Regions from separate parts of the Homo sapiens genome. Here region 2 is linked to region 1. The links are contacts of gene promoters, found by promoter capture Hi-C in blood cells and fetal thymus (Javierre and others, 2016). All regions are on one chromosome and are shown on one strand. Each heading gives the region's core, a stretch centred on a gene start or on the middle of the fragment in contact. The rest is flanking DNA. Distances are from core to core; before and after follow the strand shown. Region 1 holds the start of LARP4B (La ribonucleoprotein 4B). Region 2 overlaps DIP2C (disco interacting protein 2 homolog C).

Region 1 (4,806 bases), core at 348-2,847:
CCTGACCACCAAGAAAAAAGAGGACACCACTCTTCCCCACTGTGGTCTTCACAAACTACAACTCAGCACCTATTTCAAGTGCATTTAAATATTCAAACAACTGAAACTAAGAGAAAAAAACTTTCGAAAGGGAAAATAACTTGTCTGTCCCCTTCAATGTTCACCTTGGAGTTGCTCTCATCTCTAGAAAAAGGCCTCACGCATACTGTTTATACTTACAAACTCCACTGCCCTGTCAAGGAAAACCTTCCTGTTTTCTCAGTTATCCAAAACTTCAAACTTCCAATTTACTATTAAGACAAGTTATTGGGCATCCACTTAGAGAATCTCAAACGAAAGCCAGATAGGAGGTAGTTTTCTACAGCTAGGTTTCTCAAGTTTCATCTCAGCCAAGTTTTAAGAACGTTTTACGTAAAAATAAGGGGAAAAGCAAAATTACATTCGCATGAAGTTTCGACGCACAACGGCACTGAAACGGAAAGACTCTTCACGTTCCCAAGCGCACCCTGAGAGGCAGGTGCAGCAGCTTTCCGATGGCTTCTCTGCCGCCCATGTATCCCAGCCCCAAGACCAACACAGGCAATCTTCACATCTGACTTTATTTTTTTAACTCCTTCAGATCCACCTCTGCTCAAGTCTATCAACAGGAAAACAGGAGCGTTCCAAACACACACCGAGCAACAGGATCCCAACTTCCTGGTTCTAAAGGAATGCGATGCCCTGATGACCCGTCCCGCCCCGCACCCGCACGGCCGCCTATCCGGGCTCCGGCGGGACCGAGGAGCGAGTGGCAAGGCTGGCGCCGCACTGCGGGTGCCGGCGCCCGCCCGGCCTGGGGGCGCTCGCGGCCCGCGACCCCGGCCCCGCCCAGGCCCTGCCCGACCCCCGTCCTCGCCGGCCTTCGCCCAACCCCGGCCTCCCGACCCTGACCCCGGCCCGGTCTTCCGGGCACCCAGCTCCGTCGACTCCCGCCTCGCCTCAACGGGTCCTCCTAAGCCCCGGCCCCGGCCTTCCCCTGCCCCGGCCTCGGCCATCCTCAGCCCCAGTTTTCCCCTGCCCCGGCCCCGGTCCTCCTCAGCCCCGGCTTTTTCCTGGCCCTGACCCCGGTCCTCCTCAGCCCTGGCCCTTCCCGTGCCCTAGCCCCGGTCCTCCTCAACCCGGCCCCGGCCTTCCCCTGCCCCGGCCCCGGCCCCGGCCCAGGCCCGGCCCTGCCCGCCGCGGCCGCGTCCTCCGGGAAGATGGCGGCGCAGTGACAGGCGGCGCGGCGCGGGTCCGAGCTGGGCCGGGAGGGACGGCCCGCCGCGGCCCAGGGTGCCTCACCTGTCAGCGCCGCCGCCCCGCCCGACCGGCCGCCCGCGGGCTCCTCGCCTCAACCCCGGGGCCCGGCGGCCGCGCCACACGCGGGGACGGCGAGGAGAGAGACGGCAGGGAGAGGCGGCGCGGCCGGGCCGGGCCGGGCCGGAGGTAGGGGAGAGGGCGGGCGCGAGCTGGCGGCGGCGGCGGCGGCGGATTCTTCCCCTTTCGGGCCCGAAAATGTCTCAACCCCGGGACTCCAGATCCCCAACGCTCCTTCCCGTTCGCATGAGAACACACAGCTCCCACTTCCGGGGCCCTGCGGAAGTCCCGCCCCCGCGCGGACCCGCGCCTCGCGCCCTGAACTCGCGCACTCACCCGCCGGTCCCGCGGACTGGCGCTCAGCCCCGGGAGAGCCTCACGTCATGGTGTTGCGGCGCGCTGATTGGGCGCACCCGACGCTCGGCCCGCCCCGCCGCCTTCTTGGCCTCTCCGCGCGTACACCCTGCTCGCGGCCTTGCGATTGGCGCGTGCGCGCACATCGCCCCGCCCCGCGCACGCCGCACGTCCGCCCCGCCCGCCCCGCCCGCCCCGCCCGCCGTCCCCGGCGCGACCGGAGCGCCTGACGCTGGGGGGCCGTGTGGGCCCTGACTTCCGGAGGGCTGGGCCCTGGTCCTCCGCCACCGCGTGCGCCCCTTAAAGACCCCTGCCCGCCGCCCAGGACGGATGGCGACCCCGGCCCTAGCCTGTCCCCAGACCCTGGACCAAGGCCCCGGCCCTGCCCCGAACCCCTCATCCCACCCCCAGGACCCAGGCCCCGACCCTGGCCACCCAGGACACGCCCTGGCCCTTCCCCGAACTCCCACCCCACAGCTGGGATCAAGGTCCCGGCCCTGCCCGGAACACCTCACCCCACACCCGGGACCCAGGCCCCGGCCCTGCCCCGAACTCCCACCCCACACCCGGGACCAAGGCCCCGGCCCTGCCCCGAACCCCTCACCCCACCCCCGGGACCAAGGCCCCGGCCCTGCCCAGAACTCCCACCCCACACCCGGGACCAAGGCCCCGGCCCTGCCCAGAACTCCCACCCCACACCCGGGACCAAGGCCCCGGCCCTGCCCCGAAGGCCCCACCGGGGACCCAGGCCCCGGCCCTGCCCCAAACTCCCACCCCACACCCGGGACCAAGGCCCCGGCCCTGCCCCGAACGCCCCACCCGGGACCCAGGCCCCGGCCCTGCCCCAAACTCCCACCCCACACCCGGGACCAAGGCCCCGGCACTGCCCCGAACGCCCCACCAGGGACCCAGGCCCCAGCCCTGTCCCGAACTCCCGCCCCACACCTGAGACGAAGGTCCCGGCCCCGAAGTCCCAACCCCACACCCGGGACCAAGGCCCCGGCACTGCCCCGAACCCCCGCCCCACACCCCTAACCAAGGCCTCGGCTCAGCCCCGGAATCCCCAACCCCACACCTGGGATCAAGGCCCCGGCCCTTCCCCAAACCCCCAACCCACACCCGGGACCAAAAGGCCCCGGCCCCACGTTTCCTAGAGGCGCTGGGTTCGGGCCCACGTTGCAACGAGTCAGATGCTCTTGGTAGCTCAGGGAGGTGTTCACACTCCTGCCGTTTCCGTGAGGATGGTGACGACTCCGAACTATAGCAGCATACTCTACCTACCCCTGATCAGTTTATGGAAGAAAAGGAAACCAAACAAAGTATGTTGCGTTTCCCTTAAGCTTGCTGCCTGATTTTCTGGTTTCTGCTCTGATTGGCTACATATACACATATTATCAATTATTCCAAATTTTAGGTTTGTTCCCCCATTAAAACGGCTTTTCAGGGATACCATATTCATGGTTAACCGTGTACCTGTGCTTACAACTGCTTTTTTAATTTTGTTTTTTGATACAGGGTCTTGCTCTATGCAGGTCTGCACTCTGAGCTCAGAGTGCTGTCTCGGGCCCCCAAAATCTGGGATTAGAGATGGGAGCCGGTGTACCCAGCCTGTGCTTATAATTTTTCGTACTCAGCGTTCAAATGCTGACAATTCTGCATTTTGGAAGAAAGCCTCTCCGGCTTCCCATAGTGGGTAGACTGTTGACATCAAGGTTGGGTGCCTTCTTTGTGAAACCTTGTTGCATCCTAGCTTTAAGGGAATTTGCAAGTTAAATAATTATATTCATAGTAATGTTTTTAAAGAACATTTAACGACATAAGACACATTTCCTTTAATATTAAAAGCATGTACATATTTCAGAAAACTTGCTTACCTGGACAACCTGCCCTGACCAGTAGGCCATAGTGTCCTTGCTTAGGTGCCTGGTTCCTTTACCTCCACGGATAACCTACAGGAGCTTACTCTTGGTTCATAACATTGCTAGGGCCATTGATGTGGTATAAGTCTAGGAATTCTGCCCCAAAATTGGTAGGTTAAACTTTTTTTTTTTTTTGAGACTGACTCTCCCTCTGTCACCCCGGCTGGAGTGCCGTGGCATAATCTCGGCTCACTGCAACCTCAGTCTCCCGGGTTCAAGTGATTCTCCTGCCTCAGCCTCCGGAGTAGCTGAGACTACAGCCGCATGCCACCACGCCCAGCTAATTTTTTGTATTTTTAGTAGAGATGGGGTTTCACCGTGTTAGCCAGAATGGTCTTGATCTCCTGACCTCGTGATCCGCCTGCCTCAGCCTCCCTAAGTGCTGGGATTACAGGCGTGAGCCACCGTTCCCGGCTGGTAGGTTAAACTTCAATCTTTTTTGTCTATGTCTACATTCCAGCAGACATCTATGTCTTACCTATTACAAAAGAAAGTAATGGGATGGGTTCAGTGGCTCATGCCTGTAATCCCAGCACTTTAGGAGGCCAAGGCAGGCAGATCGCCCAAGGCCAAGAGTTCAAGACCAGTCTGGGCAATATGTCAAAGCCCCATTTCTTTAAAAAATTATACAAAAGTAGCCGGGCATGTGGTGCATGGCTGTGGTTCCAGCTACTCAGGAGGCTGAGGTGGGAGGATCGCTTGAGGTTGAGGCTGCAGTGAGCTGTGATTGTGCCACCGCATTCCAGCCTGGGTGACAGAGCGAGACCCTGTCTCAAAAAAAGAAAAAGAAAAAAACTAAAACTAAAAGAATTCCATCTCTTCTTTCTCTTCGTATTGTGTAATCCTTTCCAACAATCAGAACTGGGCTTTTTGTTCCCTCATGATCTTCTTTTTTTCAAACCTGTGTCTCAGAAGAAACATCCATTTTCACCTTGAGATGTGAGGTTATAACATGAAATACATTTTCATGGCATCTCTCCTTAGACAAGATCAGTTTTTTAAAACTTTAGTATAAATTTCTCAAACCATGATCAGATACACTCCCTCATTTCCCATGTCAAGTGGTTACAAATTCTGTCAATCCTACCTAAAAACTCTTTCCTTCTCCCCGTCCCCCCAGTGGTTTTGCCGTTGTTACTGCTCACCTGGTTTGATTCAGTGGCGTCGCGGTTGGTCTCTGCTACAGTCCATTACTCAC
Region 2 (4,804 bases), core at 2,282-4,781, 560 kb before region 1:
TCATTAATTTAACCTTCCACTGTACATTTATTCATATTTGATAGATTCCCTTGCTAGTCGGAGAAAACGCACGGCCCCGGGATTCTTTCCTTGCAGATGTGCAAGACACTGGCATACAGCCAGGCACAGAAGCGCAGGAGGTCCCGACACACAGCCAGGCACAGAAGCGCAGGAGGTCCCAACACACAGGCGGGCACAGAAGCACGGGTGCTCCCGACACACAGGTGGGCACAGAAGCGCGGGAGCTCCCGGCACACAGGCAGGCACAGAAGCGCGGGTACTCCTGACACACTGGCAGCCTCACAGCCCCACCTCCCCACAGACGTGGTGTTTGGGGCCACCCCTTAACTTCTGACCTGGTGGTGCTGATGCCTCCCCCTCCAGATGGCAAACCAGTGCCCCAGGGGTACCCTCCGTGTGCCAAATGGTTCTGACTCTTTCATGCATAGGGACTCGCTTAAAACTCACCATAAGCCTATGGCTATTATTCCTCACTTTCAGATGAGAAGATTCGGGCACAGAAAGGTTGACTTCACTGCCCAAGTGGGTGGTGGGGCTCGGCAGGACTCAGACCCAGAGCATAGCCCCTGCTGACCTGAGTGCCCGCCCCTCCCTGGTCTTTGCCTCTGATCCCAGGACACTGAGTGAATCAGTCTACTGCTCTCTTCTTTTTATAAAAACTTAGAAGCAAACAGCACAACCAACGTCAGCACATTCTTAGTATGAACAAGGCAAACATCACAGTCAAAAGGCAAAGTCCCTGTTTCTGCTCCAATCCTATGCCCCACAAATAACCACATACAGATTTTTTAATGTCAAAGTTTAGACTCCTAGATATGCAGTTAAGTATAAAATATGTATGTATACCAATACATTGATTTTTAAAAGAAAAGCAGAATCAAGATGATGCTTATTCTATGTTGGCAGAAAAGCTGAGTGTTGGGAGAAGCTGCGGCAGGGCTTGCAGGTCTGACATAATGTAAGAGTCTCAGAACATGTCTGGGGTCCACGGTCTAAAACCCCTTGTGGTCTTTGGAACACCAAGCTCTGTGCTAAAGGGTGGAAGGCTGCCCTGACACACCATAAACTAAGCCCAGGGCATAAAATCCCTCGTGGCTTGGATAGAATCCAGGGCTTGTGGCTCTGGAATGTGTCTAGACTTGCTGGCTCCTTGCTCTCCCAGGGTCGATTGTATCCTGAGTTAAAAGAACCTGCTCTCCATTATCTCAAGCAGAATATGTTCCACATGCTTCAAAGAAAATGCTAAACCGTCACAGCTGTAAGATCATGCGCTTGCCCTTTCAAGCCCCACATTCTCAACACCTGTTTCTTTGTTTGATCACCAATAAATAGTCTGGGCTTCCAGAGCTCAGGGCCTTCGCAGCCTCCATACTCGCAATAGCCCCCCGGATCCAATTTCTCTCTCAAACTGTCTTTTCTCATTCCTTTGACTCCACCATACTTTGTCACCCCAACAACCTGGTGTTGGATCTGATCACCCCAACATTCTAAAACTCACTCTCTTCACTAAACATATCTGCAGATCTTTCCATGTGTCTGTGTGTGGGTGTGCATCTGTGTAGGTGTGTGCACCACTGAATTCAGCTGGTTTGTTACACACAGTGTTTAGTAATACAAATATAAGATCATATATTTTCTTTCATTCAATTTTTATACAGCTGGAAATGTATCTGTAATATACATACCTAGAAAGAAAATGGAGCATCACAAAGCACATATACTTAAATTTTTAAGAAGACCTAAATATCCTCCCAAAATAACATACTTTGCATTCCCACTAACAGAACAGGAGTATTATTTTCTCATCTACTAGAAAAGCACCTCACACTGGCTGTATTGTGTTGTGGTTATATATTTAATGACCTATTCTGCACAGCAACCCTGTGGAGATGGGTGCAGCACCATGACCCTCCCTGTTTAGCAGACAGGGGCAGGGGCGAGGAGGGCTGAGTGCTACCCAAAGCCACTGCTGTGGAGTGGAGCCAGCGCCAATCTCAGTCTGGCTTCAGAATCTGTGCATCTGACCACAGCGCCAAGCTGCTCAGCAGTGCCCATCTCTGCACTCTTGCCAACACTTAAAATGCTTCCCAATTTGTTCAGTAAAACACCATTTGTTGGTCCAATTTGTGTTCCCTGTATTATTGAGAAACTTAGATGATATTTATCTCCATCAACACCTTGCTAAGAAGTAAAAATCCCAAGTAGGTAGATGAGGTGAGGAAGGGAAGAAACAGTCCCCATAGGCAGAATTCGAGGGGGTTTAAAAAACATCCACCTTAATAATCAATATCAGTACATTAAAAAATGGCTAATAAAGGTATCCGCCCATTCATCAACTTCCAAACTCAGTTCCCATGTGAAATGGTGTTCAAGACCAAACAGCTTTGTGTGTCTCATGAAGAATATGGATTCCAGGAGGGACCATCTCAGTGATCTCCAGGAATGTAAGGAGGCAGAGTCCTCTCTTGGAGATATGGAAGGAGCAAAATACGTACCTGTGTATACAATACCACGATGACGTGCAAAAGGGAAACAAAATAAAACTAAAGGACAACAGAGTCTGGATGTTTTGTTGCCTGCAGATCTCACGTTGAAATGTGACGTCCAACAATGCAGGTGGGCCTGTTCTCGCAGTAACACGAGAGTTCTCACTTTATGAGTTCACGTGGGATCTAGTTGTTTAGAATAGAGCTGGGCACCTCCTCTCTCTCTCTCTTGCTCGCTCAATCTCTCACCATGTGACATGCAGGCTCCCACTTTGCCTTCTGCCATGATCATAAGCTTCCTGAGGCCTCACCAGGAGCTGAGTAGATGCTGGAGCCATGCTTCTCTTACAGCCTACAGAACTGTGAGCCAAAATAAACCTCTTTTCCTTATAGATTACCCAGTCTCACACATTCCTTTATAACAATGCAAACACACCAACAAAAAGGAAAGAAGCAGGCCAGACCTTGCAATGTGGCCTCACGAGGAATGTACACTATGGCTTCCATTGAACCATTTGCACCACTGACTTGTCATAGCATTTCCAGCCTCTGGAAAGCATTCCATAAGCCTTGCCCGCATAACACCTTGAAGTAGCAGCTCCTATAAATTTCATGAACACATCTGCAGTTTGCTACTCCTGACCACAAGCAGAGCCAGGCCAGGCTTGGGACATTCACACAAAACAAACACATCAAGTAGTGAACAAGCCTCACAGCCTCCAGTTCTAGGGCTTAACAGAGAGCCACACTGCACCTGCACAGCTTCAGTGCCGCTCATCATTTGCTGAATCCCTTAAGCAAGTGAGTCAACAAGGTCTTTCATTTTTTTTATCTTATACGGGCGATCTCCAATGTAGTATTCCTCAGCTTAGCAACAACGGCACATTTAGAGAAGAAAGAGTTAAGCTGCAGGCCCCTCCTCCCCAGCAATCTTTACACAGCATTTCTATGCAACGGACCACACACAAAACACGCCTGCAGTCATGTAACGGCGGTAACATTTGTTGAATTCTTACTATGTACCAGGCGTGCTTTCAAGCTCTGTGTGTGTATGAACCCACTCAATGCTCACACGGGCCTCTGACGTAGCTAACTGCTGTGATTCTCATCTACAGACGAGGAATCCTCAAGGTGAAGCCCTGCCCACATGACAAAGCAGGCGCGAGAGCAGCGAGATGGGGACCCAGGCCGACCTCGGCCCCCGACAGAGCCGGCAGGGAGAAGGACCCAGGCCCACCTCGGCCCCCGACGGAGCCGGCAGGGAGAAGGACCCAGGCCCACCTCGGCCCCCGACGGAGCCGGCACAGAGCAAGAATGAGGTGGTGCTCATCCCACACACGACGTTCCCTGTGCTGGCGTCGAAGCACCTGCACAACGTTGCTTCTTTGGGAACACGCATTCCGGTTCCAGACAAAATGCGAAGTTACCAGGAAGCCTGTTTGAGAGTGGGGTTGGGAGGGGGGGTCTTCCCTTCTGAACTGGCAGCCAGAACCCCGAGGAAGTGTCTTTTTTTTTTTTTTTTTAAACAGGGCAGCTACTCTGGTCTTGAATCACCATTCACCACCAAAGGTTTCTCTTTTAGATGGACGTAAATCAGCCCTGATGAAGGTGCCGGGGCAGCCACACAACGCACACAGAACACAGAACATCTCCTCTGCTTTCTTTCCTCTCTGGGCCACTCTTTTTCACAGCAGCAGAATGAACTAATAAATTCACAGTACTGGTAAAAATGCCCTTTAAAGGACAGGAGCAGTTAAGCTTGTGAACTCATTTCAGCAGAAATAATATTTTCAGGAAACACGCACCGCGAGGGGAAATTCAGTGAAAAATGTGCATGTACCTTTTTCGATGTTTAGCGTGACACAGACTTTCAAAAACACAACAGATAAGTGAGATTGCGATTTTTAATAGGAAAAGATACAATGTAAAAGCAGCCAATATATTAAGTTATGAGTTGATTTAATGTAATATTCTTCCTTTTCTCTAACAGGAGCAATGCATGCCCACTAAAAACAGCCCATTTTACAAGCTGCACAGCACGGAAAGTGAGCTGCCCATCTTTACTGCCTCACCCACCCTGTGCAGCGCAGTTTTTTTTTTTTTTTTGCACTGAATATACTATTTACAGATACTTAATTTTTTGTTACCAAAAACGGGATCACACTATATAAACTTTTTTACAAACTCTTTCTCATAAGCCTTGGCCACCTTTCTATTTCCAGGGGAGGTTATGGGCTGGAACTGGGGGGGACCCCGTGGGGAGGCCCCTCCTCTGCCATCTTCCCGCTGCACCTCCT

What was found. The method cuts DNA at HindIII sites, captures the fragments that hold promoters and counts their contacts. A CHiCAGO score of 5 or more calls a contact.
Region 2: a contact is called between a fragment that was not itself captured here and the fragment with the promoter of LARP4B in region 1, in 1 of 17 cell types (fetal thymus). The highest score is 5.4, in fetal thymus.

What each region holds. Positions count from the first base shown.
Region 1 is chr10:930,108-934,913 of GRCh38, forward strand. LARP4B (La ribonucleoprotein 4B) reads right to left here and starts at 1,598. Exons shown (of 18, transcript NM_015155.3): 1 at 1,321-1,598. LOC124902363 (keratinocyte proline-rich protein-like) reads left to right here and starts at 1,884. Exons shown (of 2, transcript XM_047426111.1): 1 at 1,884-3,008; 2 at 4,729-4,806. The coding sequence starts at 2,020. The coding sequence ends at 2,724. It overlaps LARP4B-DT (LARP4B divergent transcript), which reads left to right and starts at 2,919. Exons shown (of 3, transcript NR_120629.1): 1 at 2,919-3,008. RefSeq lists silencers at 789-918, 1,009-1,088, 1,119-1,228, 1,299-2,008, 2,089-2,178. The HindIII fragment of the contact is 3,248 bases long and covers 1-3,027 here.
Region 2 is chr10:372,545-377,348 of GRCh38, forward strand. All of the region lies in intron 17 of DIP2C (disco interacting protein 2 homolog C), which reads right to left. Among named protein-coding and RNA genes, the nearest start is that of ZMYND11, 240 kb to the left of the region's middle. RefSeq lists an enhancer at 291-798. The HindIII fragment of the contact is 1,463 bases long and covers 2,801-4,263 here.